Linked DNA regions of Homo sapiens: region 2 is linked to region 1. The links are contacts of gene promoters, found by promoter capture Hi-C in blood cells and fetal thymus (Javierre and others, 2016). All regions are on one chromosome and are shown on one strand. Each heading gives the region's core, a stretch centred on a gene start or on the middle of the fragment in contact. The rest is flanking DNA. Distances are from core to core; before and after follow the strand shown. Region 1 holds the start of ZSCAN2 (zinc finger and SCAN domain containing 2). Region 2 overlaps WDR73 (WD repeat domain 73).

Region 1 (6,987 bases), core at 1,556-4,055:
TTCTGCCTGTCCAGTGTTTCCTAACAGGCCTTCAGTCTCCAGAGTGGAGAATCTGCCTTTGTGTGGGGTATTAGTAAGAAAATCTAGGAGCCACATCCAATCCTCTCTCACCCTGCTGCATCCAGGGAATGTGCATGTGACTTAGACTCAACCAACCAAATGCTCTTTCCTTGCATGGGAGAATTTGTGTGAGAAAGGCGGAGAAACAGAGATGGCTGTAGTACCACCAGAGGTCATGGGATAGGCAAGCTGAACTTTTTCTGCTCAGAGACTGTTATTGTGGTTTTTGGGGACTTCCTCTTTGTCTCTTGGCTCCTAACTGTTCTCAAGCCTGATTCGTCAGCTCCCTTCTACTCTGTCAGTTCCCTGACAGTCTTTCAGTAAGTCCCTTTTACTTAAGTTAGCCAGATTAGTTCTTAAGCTTTTAACCAAGAATGCTTTCTGGTGGAACAGAGCCTCTCTCACCCTTGTGGTTTGGCCAATGGAGAAAGGACTCTCTTGGGGGAGCAACCTTGAACTTGGCTGTGTTTCCAGGCTTGCTTCGATGTAGCAGGCTGGTCTTAGGGTACTGGCTTGGCTACCAGGGCCCTTCTCAGTAGGATCATTATGCCATGAATTGGTCTTAAATGTGACTTTCTCTCTGTCTCATGTAGGATAGTTGACACTGGCAAGGACCAGCTTCCCAGAATCAGACACAGAGGAGACAGCTTCTTTAGGACTCTCCAGTGACAAGCTAGTGCCAGTTCTGTGGTCAAGGGTTGACATGGGTTAGGAACAGAGGTAAATAAACGCTTGAGCTGCTGGAAAGTTCCATCTGTGCATCCCCAGCCTCCCCTGCATCTTTTCCTTTTTGTGTAAATTTCCATTCCTGGTAAGGATGGACACATGGAGAAACCCATCTTTTTTAATACAATGTCATCCCAAAAAAAATCACTTGGAGGGGTGGTGGCCCAGAATTCTGCATCCAGGGGCTTAGTGCAGACTTCTCAGGCTGGCCTGGAGGTGGTGCTATTTGCATGTGGTCAGTCTGGGATAATAAAGATGCTACCAGGGTATTGGATAAGAATCACTAGCTGAACTTCACTTTGCATCTCTGTAATTGGATTCAAGAGGTTAATTAGTGAAAAACAGGTGAATTTCACATAATCTTTGGAGTGGTGCAGAGGACTTTCTAACACAAAACTCACAGGCTATAAAAAGATAAGATTAACAAATTTGACTGCAAAAAAATTTCAAATTTCTATATTTAATAAACCAGCAGAAAACAAACAGCAAACTGAGAAAGAGTAGCAACTGCTGTGACAAAGGGATAATTTTCTTAATATACAAAGAGCTCTTACAAATAAATCCAATTTAAAAATGGGAAAAGGACCGGGCACGTGGCTCATGCCTGTAATCTCAGCACTTTGGGAGGCCAAGACGGCTGGATCACCTGAGGTCAGGAATTCAAGACCAGCCTGATCAACATGGTGAAATCTCTGTCTCTACTAAAAACACGCAAAATTAGCCAGGTGTGGTGGCGCACGCCGGTAATCCCAGCTACTTGGGAGGCTGAGGCAGGAGAATCACTTGATCCGAGATCGTGTCACTGCACTCCAGCCTGGGCGACAGAGGAGGAAAAAAAAAAGCAGTCATTTCATTGCAGGTGCCTCCAGTAATTGCTCAGTGCAAACATACATAACTATTCTATCACAGACCATTAAGGGTGTCTCTCTCCATTTTTAGATTTTCCGCTTGAGTTTCCAGGTAGTTTCTCACCTGTTTTCAAGCAGGGTTGGGGCAGCCGTTTCTTCAACAGCGCCAGCCGTAAAACACAAAGATGGAGGCCAACCTCCCACACCCGGGCACCCTCCCTTCCCCCATACTGAGATTGACAAGTAAGCAACCCGGTGATCAGTACTAAAATGGAGACGTCAGCCAGGTGCGGTGGCTCACACCTGTAATTCCAGCACTTTGGGAGGCTGAGGAGGAAGGATCGCTTGAGCCCAGGGGTTCGAGGTCAGCCTGGGCAACATATGGAAACCCTGTCTCTATGAAATGTAGATCCTGTCTGTGAGTGTGTGTGTATAAATAAATATATATATATATATACAAATACATACATATATATATTTAAAAAATAAAATGGGGACGTCCAACACGTGTACTAGGGGCGGTGTCTCTGCCTGGGGAGGTGGTGATGACAGGGCAGGCTCCACCCAGGAGAAGCTGGAAGAATGGGAGTTCCGCGGCAGAGGAGGCGGGGCAGGGCGTTCCTCCAAACACAGGAATACCACGTGCGAAAACAAAGGGGTGTGCGAAGACCGGGTGCATGTGTACAGCTGCAAACTGGGGGAAAGGCGCCAGGCTTGGGCGATGAGGATTTGTTCCCCCATGGATTCCCTTCCTGCCCAGGGTCCGCTCTCGCCGGTCGAGGGTGCCTAACAATACTCCTTGCCACAAGGTTCGCAGCCGAAAAGGTCCTTCAAGTCCGGCCATCCAACTTTCACTTTTTATAGACAAATATACAGAGGCCTTAGATAAGTGAAACGGCTTGTCTCGGGTTACAGCTCTAGCCAACACAGGGTTTCTGACGGTCAGTCTGCGGATTTTCCTGCCTCTGGTCCGCAGGCACTGCCCAGGCTGTCAGCCCCAAACCCTACTCCGGGGACCGCGGTCAGGTTCGTCTCCGGGCGGACTACATCTCCCACAATGCCTTGGGCCCAGCCTCCCTCCTGCCGCCCGGCTGGGTGCCGTCTCCACCAACAGAAAGGCAGAATTTCCAGGGCCGTTCTCGGCAGCCAATGAGCGCGGCGGTGGGCGGGCCTCTCCCGTCCATTGTTCTCGGTGCCCCACGGGCTTGAGCCGGGGTGAATCTGGAGGGGCCGGGCCGAGCCCGGGGGCGCTTTCGCACGCGAAGCAACCGCTAGAGCAGGACCTGGTCTCCCGAGAGGTGAGCCGGAGAGGCAGGCCTGGAGCCACGCGGACCCCGGGCAGTAGCCCGAGGTGAGGGAATAGTGGGCCTGGAGCCAGCTGCCGGCAGCTCTGCTGGGGGAGGGGCGTCGGGGTCGCGCTCCGTATCCTGCGGGCCCTGCAGCCCCGATTTACGCGCCGGCTCCGCTCAGCGAACCGTCCCGGACGCGTCTCCCTGGCGGAGAGCTCCTTGCCTCTCCTACCGAGAAGCGCAGGCTTTGGACGGGAAGGGGCATTCGACGACATCCCGCGCAGCGTACACGTTTTACAGATGGGGAAACTGAGGTTCAGAGGGGGCGTGTCGTGCCCCAAGTCAGACCGCAAATTAGCTGACCTGGCACACTTTTCCCAGGCTCCCAAGTAGGAAGAGTTCTCTTACACCATATGCCAGTATTTCTTCTAGTCATTTGAGTAAATACACGTTGAGAGCTTCGGTTTTCCCACTAGCTTTTATTTTTTGTCCTTTTTTTTTTAAGCTTTTGTCAGCTTTTCTCCCCTTTTCATTGAGGGAGGGTTGTTAGTTGAGTCTTTATGATGTAGTAATGATTTTTTAAAAAATTTTTTTATTTTTGTAGAGACTGGGTCTCACTCTGTTGCCCAGGTTGGTCATGAACTCCCGGCCTCAAGCCATCTTCCCTCCTCGGCCTCCCAAAGTGCTGGAATTACAGGCGTGAGCTACAGCGCTTGGGCTAAAAATAATTTTGTATTGCTTTTATAATATTTTAAGTCGTTTGCAATTCCACTGCTTTCAATATTTTGTAGGTGCCGTCCCGTTCTTTTTTCCTGTGAGTTCATTTTTTTTTTTTTTTTTTTTTGAGACGGAGTTTTGCTTTTGTTGCCCAGGCTGGAGTGCAATGGCCTGATCTCCGCTCACCGCATCCTCTGCCTCCCGGGTTCAAGCGATTCTCCTGCCTCAGCCTCCGGAGTAGCTGGGATTACGGGCATGCGCCACCACGCCTGGCTAATTTTGTTTTTAGTAGAGACGAGGTTTCTCCGTGTTGGTCAGGCTGGTCTCGATCTTCCGACCTCAGGTGATCCGCCCGCCTCAACCTGCCAAAGTGCTAGGATTACAGGTCTGAGCCACCGCGCCCGGCTGTGAGTTCATTTTTAAAGGGAATTGAGGACTTACTGTGTCTATGGTTTTTCTGCCCTGCTGATTTTGTGTTTATCCATTATTTTCCTATCAGAAGGATTATCTTAAATCATTAATGATTAATCTTTGTCAATATAATTTTTAAAATATTAAAAACATACAGCGTAATGTGCAGATCTTAAATTTCATATGTTTGCTCTTGTGCCGCCATTGCCAAATGAAGATATTGAAAATTTCCATCATCCCAGAAGGCTCCTTTGAGCCCCTTTCCTGTCATTACCACCTAAAGGTAGCCATTATTATAGCACAGTTTCTTTTCTTTTTTTTCCTTTTCTTTTCTTTTTTTTTTTTTTTTTTTGAGACAGAGTCTGGCTCTTTCGCCCAGACTGGAGTGCAGTGGCACGATCTCGGCTCACTGCAACCTCCTCCTCCCAGGTTCGGGCAATTCTCCTGCCTCAGCCTCCTGAGTAGCTGGGATTACAGGCGCCCGTCACCATGCCTGGCTAATTTTTGTATTTTTGGTAGAGACGGGGTTTCACTATATTGGCCAGGCTGGTCTCGAACTCCTGACCTCAAGTGATCCGCCTGCCGAGGCCTCCCAAAGTGCTGGGATTACAGGCAACCACGCCAAGCCTATAGCACAGTTTCTAATACATGCTGCTATATGGGTGTGTCATAGTTTATTAGCCATTCCCTGCTGCTGGATTTTTAAGGACTCGATTTTTTGGTTATTTTTTTAAGATAAAGTACTGAGGGGCCGAGGCTGGATTGGAGAGTATATGCATGTTTTAAACTTCATACTTAAAGTATGGTAATAATGCAGTTGAGATATTGCCTTTCTTCCAAAGAAGCTCAGAGTGCTTTGACATCTGATCCATTGCTGATCCTTAAGATGCCCCCATAAAAACAGAAACATGAGTGTTATTATCTTTATTAGGTGGTCACCGAGTTTGGTGACTAAGTTGTATGTTAGGTCAAGGTCACACAGTGCAAGTCGAAACTGACTTAGGAGAGTCCTCAGTATTTCAGTCATGGGTTTTTCCCGGGGACTTTGCATTTCTGATACTCATTCTTTGGTGTTTTGGAAGGAACAATGCTGTATTTTTTGTGCTTGGGATACTTTTTTTTTTTTTTTTTTGAGACGGAGTCTCACTCTGTTGCCTGGGCTGGAGTGCAGTGGCGAGATCTGTGCTCACTGCAACCTCCGCCTCCTGGGTTCAAGAGATTCTCCTGCCTCAGCCTCCCAAGTAGCAGGAACTACAGGCCCCCGCCACCACGCCCGGCTAATTTTTGTATTTTTAATAGAAATGGGGTTTCACCATACCTCAGGTGATCCGCCCACCTCGGCCTCCCAAAGTGCTGGGATTACAGGCATGAGACACTGCACCCAGCCTTCTTTTACCACAGAGAGATGTTTTCAGGAATAAGCCATTTTTTCTTTAAGAAGAACAGGAAACGTCTGTTGGTTTGCATATGTAAGGGCCACTTGGTGGTCTGACCTGGGCTTTTGTGAGTTAGATTGCTTTAGGACAGTCTACCTATGGATTATGGTTCTCTTTTTTGTTTCTCAGCGGGACTACTTGTTGATATTTGAGGAGGGAAGTGTCTTACCTGAGAGCCTGGCTGGAGAAGACTGAGGTCCAAGGCTTGAAGCCTAAGTGATTGCCCCAGGACTGTGGATGATGGCTGCAGACATCCCGAGAGTGACCACTCCGCTGAGCTCCTTGGTCCAGGTGCCTCAAGAGGAAGATAGACAGGAGGAGGAGGTCACCACCATGATCCTGGAGGATGACTCCTGGGTGCAAGAAGCTGTGCTGCAGGAGGATGGCCCTGAGTCTGAGCCCTTTCCCCAGAGTGCTGGCAAGGGCGGCCCCCAGGAGGAGGTGACCAGGGGACCACAGGGTGCACTCGGCCGCCTCCGAGAGCTCTGCCGGCGCTGGCTGAGACCAGAGGTACACACCAAGGAGCAGATGTTAACCATGCTGCCAAAGGAAATTCAGGCTTGGCTGCAAGAGCATCGGCCTGAAAGCAGTGAGGAGGCAGCGGCCCTGGTGGAAGACTTGACCCAGACCCTTCAGGACAGTGGTGAGACGCAGAACCTCATAGGGAGAGGGCGGGAGCACCCTTCCAAGGTAGAGGAGTGTGGTGTTTCGGAGGAGGAGAAGGTGGTGTCCAAGGCAGAGTGGGGGGCTAGCGCCATCCCTCTGCTCTGTCTGCAGGCAGTCAGCGTGTTCATCAGCCTTTTAGTGTCCTCACTGTGTGCAAAGTCAGCTCCAGAAGTGCTAGGAGGGCCTTAGAGCTACATTTGAATTGTAAGCACAGTTTTTACTTCTGTGTTTATTTGGAGTGGTTGGGAAGGTGATGGAAGTTAAACGGGAGGAGATGGAGACCCCTGGCACCTTCACGTGGTTGTGCAAGAAACATCCAAATGGTTCTTGCAATTAGAGAAAACAATCTGATATTTTCAACATGACTTTTTTTTCTTTTTTCTTTTTTTTTTTTTTTTTGAAACGGAGTCTCGCTCTGTCACCCAGGCTGGGGTGCAGTGGCACAATCTTGGCTCACTGCAACCTCCGTCTTCTGGGTTCAAGCAGTTCTCCTGCCTCAGCCTTTTGAGTAGCTGGAATTACAGGCGTGCGCCACCACGCCCGGCTAATTTTTTTATTTTTCGTAGAGATGGGGCTTCACCATGTTCGCCAGACTGGTCTCAAGCTCCTAACCTCGTGATCCGCCCACCTCAGCCCCCGAAAGTGCTGGGATTACAGGCGTGAGTCACCACGCCTGGCCCCAAAGTGGTTATTTTTATGAAACCAAGAGAAATGACAAGTAAACCAGCTAATAACTAGGGACTTTCTGTGGTATAAAGTAATCCTGGGCTCTTAAAATCGTAATTTCAAACTTGAGCTCTTTGCAATAGTTACTCTATTTTTTTCCGGTGTTAC
Region 2 (6,987 bases), core at 3,233-5,732, 36 kb after region 1:
TATTTCGTGGTCATGGTATCTGCAACTTTCCTTCCAAGTTCAGGCTGACTCTTCAGAGAATGCACAACATTGGCTGCTCTGAGTGTCCGTCCCTGCCATTAAATAAGAAAATTGCTTAAAATGGTATGAGCCTCACTGTGATCAGGGAGGAGCACATGTGACAGGGATGTCTTTTTGGAGAACAGCTCTCACTCTGTAGCAGCCAGCCAGAGGCAAGCGGCTTCGGTGGTCTTTGTCGACATTATTGAGCCTATTGCAAAACACCTGAATTATCCTATGTCTTTTTGCCTAGGGTTTGGCAAGGCAGGTAGGAGCAGTCCCCAGAGAGCTGGGTGGCCAGGATGCAGTGGTCCATGGCCTTATCTCCATAAAGCCTTCCACATGTCTGCCGTCTTTACTGCTGTTGCAGGCTTTTGCATAAGACTGGCTTTTTCCTCTGCTTTTTTTTTTTTTTTTTTTTTTTTGGAAAGGGAGTCTCGCTCTGTCACCCAGGCTGGAGTGCAGTGGTGCCATCTCGGGTCATTGCAACCTCCGCCAACCGGGTTCAAGCGAGTCTCCTGCCTCAGCCTCCCTAGTAGCTGGGACTACAGGCGCCCACCACCACGCCCGGCTAATTTTTGTATTTTTAGTAGAGACTGGGTTTCACCATATTGGCCAGGCTGGCCTCGAACTCCTGACCTTGTGATCCACCCACCTCGGCCTCCCAAAGTGTTGGGATTACAGGCGTGAGCCACTGCACCCAACCTTTCCTCTGCTTTTTTATGTTTGGGATGTTTAAGTTTTAGTCCCTACAGAATTTTGACCACTTCCAGTCCTTGAAGAGGGACAGGATGTGCTCTCAAAGAAGGAGCCCTCAGGATCAGTACTGAGTTCTCTAAACATCCATCCGAAGCAAGCACAGACAGAATCTGTCTGTTCCAGGCAATGGTGAAGTTCACAGCAGAACCAGAGGAACAGTTGAAGCACAGCCCCAAAATAGAACGAACTCTAGCCCGTCCGCAAGAGTGATAAGAAATCGCAGTGTGGGCCCACGCGCGCCGCACGGCCGGGTCGCCGCCGTACCGTGGTGTACGTGCAGAATGCGCAGAGCGAGCGGCACCCGCTTACCCTGCGCTCCTCCGCAGCCTGGGCCGGGCCGCCCGGGACGCTGAGGCGGTGGCGGCAGCCGAGGGGGCCGGTCTTGCGCTCCGCAGGCTCGCGCGCCCGAGCCCGGGTTGCCGTTCGCCGCACAGGCCGCGTTCTCTCAGCCCACGGCGGCGATTAGGCGCTGAGGCGGCCGCCTGCGCTGCGCCGGAGCCTAGGACTCGGAAGCGACCCGGCCGAGGGCCCTGGGTGCCAGCCTCCTTGAGTCAAGGGTAGCGGGTGCATGGCGCAGTGACGGCCCCTATCTCTCTCTCCGCTCCCCAGCCTCGGGCGAGGCCGTCCGGCCGCACCCCTCCTGCTCAGCTGCGGTCGCCATGGCCAATGACAGCTGCGGGCCCGGCGAGCCGAGCTCGAGCGAGCGAGACCGGCAGTACTGCGAGCTGTGCGGGAAGATGGAGAACCTGCTGCGCTGCAGCCGCAGCTCCTTCTGCTGCAAGGAGCGCCAGCGCCAGGACTGGAAGAAGCACAAGCTCGTGTGCCAGGGCAGCGAGGGCGCCCTCGGCCACGGAGGGGGCCCTCACCAGGACTCCGGCCCCGCGCCGCCCGCTGCAGCGCCGCCGTCCAGGGACCGGGCCCTGGAGGCCAGGAAGGCAGCGAGGCGCCGGGACAGCGCCTCCGGGGACGCAGCCAAGGCAAAGGCCAAGTCCGCGGCCGACCCCGCGGCGGCCGCGTCCCCGCCTCGCGCGTCCCCGGGCCGGACAAAAGCCATGGCTGCTTGTTATCCGGTCAATGGAACGGGTTATGTACGTCATGTTGATAATCCAAATGGAGACGGAAGACGTGTGAAATGTATTACATTACGTTAAAGAACGGGATGCCAAGGTAAGTGGAGGTATACTTCGAATTTTTCTAGAAGGTAAAGCCTAGTTTGCTGACATTGAACCCAAATTTGATAGACTGCTGTTTTTCTGGTCTGACCATCGCAACCCTCATGAAGTACAACCAGCATATGCTACAAAGTACGCAATAACTGTTTGGTATTTGATGCAGATGAGAGAGCACGAGCTAAAGTAAAATATCTAACAGGTGAAAAAGGTGTGAGGATTGAACTCAATAAACCTTCAGATTCAGTCAGTAAAGACGTCTTATAGAGCCTTTGATCCAGCAATACCCCACTTCACCTACAATAATTGTTGACGCTATTTGTTAATTTGTGAATACGAATAAATGGGATAAAGAAAAATAGACAACCAGTTCGCATTTTAGTAAGGAAACAAACAACTTTGTGTGTTGCATCAAACAGAAGATTCTGACTGCTGTGACTTTGTACCGCATGATCAACTTAGAATCTGTGATTGCTTACAGGAAGAAGATAAGCTACTAATAGAAAATGTTTTTACCTCTGGATATGAAATAAGTGCCCTGTGTAGAATTTTTTTCATTCTTATATTTTGCCAGATCTGTTACGTAGCTGAGTTAATTTCATCTCTACTTTTTTAATATATGTCAAGTTTGAATTGGAATAATTTTTCTATGATTAGGTACAATTTATCAAAACTGAATTGAGAAAAAATTACAGTATTTCTCAAAATAACGTCAATCTATTTTTGTAAACCTCTTCATACTATTAAATTTTGCCCTAAAAGACCTCTTAATAATGATTGTTGCCAGTGACTGATTAATTTTATTTTACTTAAAATAAGAAAAGGAGCACTTTAATTACAACTGAAAAATCAGATTGTTTTGCAGTCCTTCCTATCTTACACTAATTTGAACTCTTAAAGATTGCTGCTTTTTTTTGATATTGTCAATAATGAAACCCAATTGTAAAACAGTCACCATTTACTACCAGTAACTTTTAGTTAATGTCTTACAAGGAAAAAGACACAATAAGAAGAGTTTAATTTTTTTTTTTTTTTTGAGTCTTGCTCTGTTACCCAGGCTGGAGTGCAGTGGTGCATTCTCAGCTCACTGCAACCCCACTGTCTCCCAGGTTCAAGCAATCCTCCCGCCTCAGCCTCACAACTAGCTGGGACTACAGGCACATACCACCATGCCTGGCTAATTTTTGTATTTTTAGTAGAGACTGGGTTTCACCATGTTGCCTAGGCTGGGGTTTAAGTTAAATTTTTTTAAAAACTAAAGTGACTGGCACTAAGTGAACTTGAGATTATCCTCAGCTTCAAGTTCCTAAGATAAGGGCTTTCTTAAGCTTTCAGATACATGTATCCTCTAGATGTAGACAATAATGTCCCATTTCTAAGTCTTTTCCTTTGCTTCTCCTTAAGTTGATTGTACTTCCAAATTTGCTGTTATTTTTTTTCCTAATACTGTGATTTATTTGATCTACAGACAGGAACCTTGTCTCTGTTGAAGAGCATCAAGGGAAGATTACATACGCCTTGAAACCGAAGTGTGTTGTTACCGACTTAATGTGCAGTAACTCCTCAGATATCTGTTAAGGCACTTCCCAGATGTGATGCCAGTCTTCTTACCTGTACTGAAAGATGTTTAGCTTAGAAAAAAAAAAAAGTGCAAAATCAGATTTAAAAAAAAAAAAAGTAGCAGCAGTGTGGGGAGGAAGGAAGTACCCTTCTGTGGGGAGGGCATAGAAGTACTCTGTGAGTGCAGAAAGTGGGGTAGAAGGTACAGCTCCCTTCTACTTAGAAGATTGGTGTGTTGACCTCAGGCTGACCGCATGAATTTCTGGGATCCTAAATGGGCACCTCCAAAGTGAAGAAGGACCTCGGTTGGCATGTTTTGTAAAACAACATAGGGGAGCCTGTAGCACCTTTCCTTATGTGAGTCAGAGATTACCGGTCCCAATAGGTTACAGTTGGAGACAGATTTTAGGTCTGGTTGGTGGGAAGGGCAAAAGGGTAGGGTTAAACTAAGGTGCAGTAATCCTTAAAACAGTTAAGTGTCCCCAGACCAATTTAGATGACTCAGGTGTGTTATCAAAACTGAAAAACAAGGCCAGTTATGGTGGCTCATGCCTGTAATTCCAGTACTTTGGAGGCTGAGGTGGGTGGATTGCTTGAGCCCAGGAGTTCAGAGATGAGCCTGGGCAATATGGTGAAACTCCGTCTCCTCTAAAAATACAAAAAAAAAAAAAAAAAAAATTAGCCGGGCATGGTGGCAGGCACCTGTAGTCCCAGCTACTCAGAAGGCTGAGGTGGGAGGATCACCTGAGCCCAGGAGGTTAAGGCTGCGGTAAGCCAAGGTCACGCCACTGCACTCCAGCCTGGGCGACAGATCGAGGCCCTGTCTCAAAAAAACAAAAAGCAAACAAAAAACCTGAAAAACAAAATCATAAAACCCTGACAGTCAGTACCTAGATGGATATGGAGGGGAAAACCTAAAACTTTCATTTTAGAAACGTTTCATTTTGGCTGGGCATGGTGGCTCACGCCTGTAATCCCAGCACTTTGGGAGGCAGAGGCGGGCGGATCATGAGGTCAGGAGATCGAGACCATCCTGGCTAACACAGTGAAACCCCGTCTCTACTAAAAATACAAAAAATTAGCCGGGTGTGGTGGTGGGCACCTGTAGTCCCAGCTACTCAGGAGGCTGAGGCAGGAGAATGGCCTGAACCTGGGAGGCGGAGCTTGCAGTGAGCTGAGATTGTGCCACTGCACTCCAGCCTGGGCGACAGAGTGAGACTCCGTCTCAAAAAAAAAAAAAAAAAGAAATGTTTCATTTTGGTTTTTCACCAACCTTCCTTTGATAGGACAAAGCAGATACTAAGAGGGGGAGGAAAGGCTGTTCTGTGTCTGAACCCAGTTGGGCTAGTCCCCAAGAGGAGCTGAGAGCCATGTACTCTAATGCCTCCCTTTTCTTCCCCCAGCCCTGCCTGATGTGGCTCTGGGAATTCCTGCAGAGAAGAGCAGGGGTGGCCAGGAGATAGTGAGCAGCTCCCAGGTGAGTCAGCCATTTCTCTTATATAGATCACCTTTTCTCTCTCTCTTTTTTTTTTAATAGAAATATAACTCTTGAGGCACAGCTCAGTTTTCTCCTTTTGGGAAAACGATTAAGTCATTTGTCTTTACAGATTATATTTCTTTTTTTTTAAATTTTCTCTTTTTATTATACTTTAAGTTCTGGGGTACATGTGCAGAACATGCAGGTTTGTTACATAGGTACACACGTGCCATGGTGGTTTGCTGCACCCACCAACCCATCGTCTACATTAGGTATTTCTCCTAATGCTCTCCCTCCCCTAGCCCCCAATCCCCCTCAGGTCACCTTTTACTACCCAAGTGGGGCTCCTGCAACCAACTCTCTTGCCGCTCAGAAATTCCAAAAGAATTTTACCCAGCAGGGAGGCCCAGTAACTTTACAATTTAGGCTCCAAAATTTCATCAGCCTGCAAAAGGTTGCCCAAATCTCCTTACCCATATGAGGCCAGTGCCATGGCTGTGGTAATGAGGGATTGCATTAAAATTATTCTTTTCTTTGACCCTGAAATCATCAGATTCTACTGATCTGCTTGTTTGCCTTAAAGATACTGGTTACTTCATTCTGTGTCGGGATCTTGCTCACATGGCATGCAGTACTGTGTAGTGGAGGAAAAAAAACAAAAACCAAAAGCTTCAGAGTCCAACAGCCTTGAGTTGAATTCCCAGCCATACCCTGGACTTGCTGTGTAACTCTGGGCAAGTCTGAGAAGCTTCTGGCTCAGTGCATAATGTCAGCTTGTTTCTTTTCTGTCTCCTCCTGCCCGCTTGATTGCATTTAAAAGCCAAAATAATCACTGTTTCATTTCTTCTGTTGTGTCACTTGCCCTGACTCAGGCATTAGAGAGGCATTTTGTTCTGAGGCCATGTGTTTTGAGAAGGGGTGTTGTTTCCTCAGGAGCTAGTGACACCTGGTGATTCGGCTGTGTATATCTCCTAGGAGGCATGGAGGGATCCAGAACCTGGACTGAAGAACCACCTAGAAATAACTCAGCAGAATTCTGAAAATGAGGTCACGCTGGGTAAGAATGCCTTTTTTTTTTTTTCATAGTCAAAGTTAGCTATGGAGTTTCTGTAGTATTCACTACTCCAGACCTTTTTCAAGTTGAATTTTTTTTCTTTTTCCCTATGTCTGTTCTTACGTATTTTTTTTAAACTTTTATTTCAGTAGTGTTTGGGGAACAAGTAGTGTTTGGTTGCATGGAAAAGTTCTTCAGTGGTGATTTCTGAGATTTTGGTGCACCCATCACCCAAGGGTAGTCTTTTTTATCCATCAAGTCTGTACCCAATGTGTAGTCTTTGTTTTTTTCTTTTTTTTTTTTTTGAGACTGAGTCTCATTCTATCACCCAGGCTGGAGTGGAGTGGTATGATCTTGACTCACTGCAACATCTGCCTCCCGGGTTCAAGTGATTCTCCTGCCTCAGCCTCCTGAGTCGCTGGGATTACAGAGATGTGCCACCACGCCCAGCTAATTTTTGTATTTTTTTTTTTTTTTTTTGGCAGAGATGGGGTTTCACCATGTTGGCCAGGCTGGTCTTGAACTCCTGACCTTAAGTAATCTGCCTGCCTCGGCCTCCCAAAGTGCTGGGATTACAGGCCTGAGCCACCACGGGGCCCCAGTGTGCAGTCTTTTATCCCCTCAGTCTGTACCCAGTGTGTAGTCTTTTATCCCTCACCCCCCTGCTCCCACCCTTTCCCCCTGGGTTGAATATTTCAAATCTATTTCTTCCTTAAATCTTACTCAAAGGAAATCCAATACCATAGTCAGTTTCACCAAGGATGAATTTCTTGACCCAGAAAGGAAAGCTCATTTTAGGGAGATGGTCAGTTTAGGTATGTGTCTGAATTTTATTTAAGATAGATGAACGTGGATATATAGTTATGCATTTGGGCCTGAATTTTTTTTTCTAGTTGTTCTTTTCACTGAGCTTTCCCAAGAATCCCCCC

Evidence for each region. Contacts are between HindIII fragments. The CHiCAGO score rates a contact against its expected background, and 5 or more counts as called.
Region 2: a contact is called between a fragment that was not itself captured here and the fragment with the promoter of ZSCAN2 in region 1, in 1 of 17 cell types (naive CD4 T cells). The highest score is 6.1, in naive CD4 T cells.

The regions. Positions count from the first base shown.
Region 1 is chr15:84,598,204-84,605,190 of GRCh38, forward strand. It overlaps ZSCAN2 (zinc finger and SCAN domain containing 2), which reads left to right and starts at 2,806. Exons shown (of 3, transcript NM_181877.4): 1 at 2,806-2,932; 2 at 5,617-6,130. The coding sequence starts at 5,725. It overlaps LOC105370947 (a long non-coding RNA gene), which reads right to left. Exons shown (of 4, transcript NR_186225.1): 3 at 5,657-5,782; 4 at 1,231-1,600. RefSeq lists enhancers at 2,654-2,703, 5,221-5,849 and a silencer at 3,024-3,173. The HindIII fragment of the contact is 3,007 bases long and covers 420-3,426 here.
Region 2 is chr15:84,632,417-84,639,403 of GRCh38, forward strand. It overlaps WDR73 (WD repeat domain 73), which reads right to left. Exons shown (of 8, transcript NM_032856.5): 8 at 6,869-6,987. It also overlaps the pseudogene SCAND2P and the pseudogene EGLN1P1. Among named protein-coding and RNA genes, the nearest start is that of WDR73, 18 kb to the right of the region's middle. RefSeq lists silencers at 972-1,321, 1,792-1,871. The HindIII fragment of the contact is 2,378 bases long and covers 3,294-5,671 here.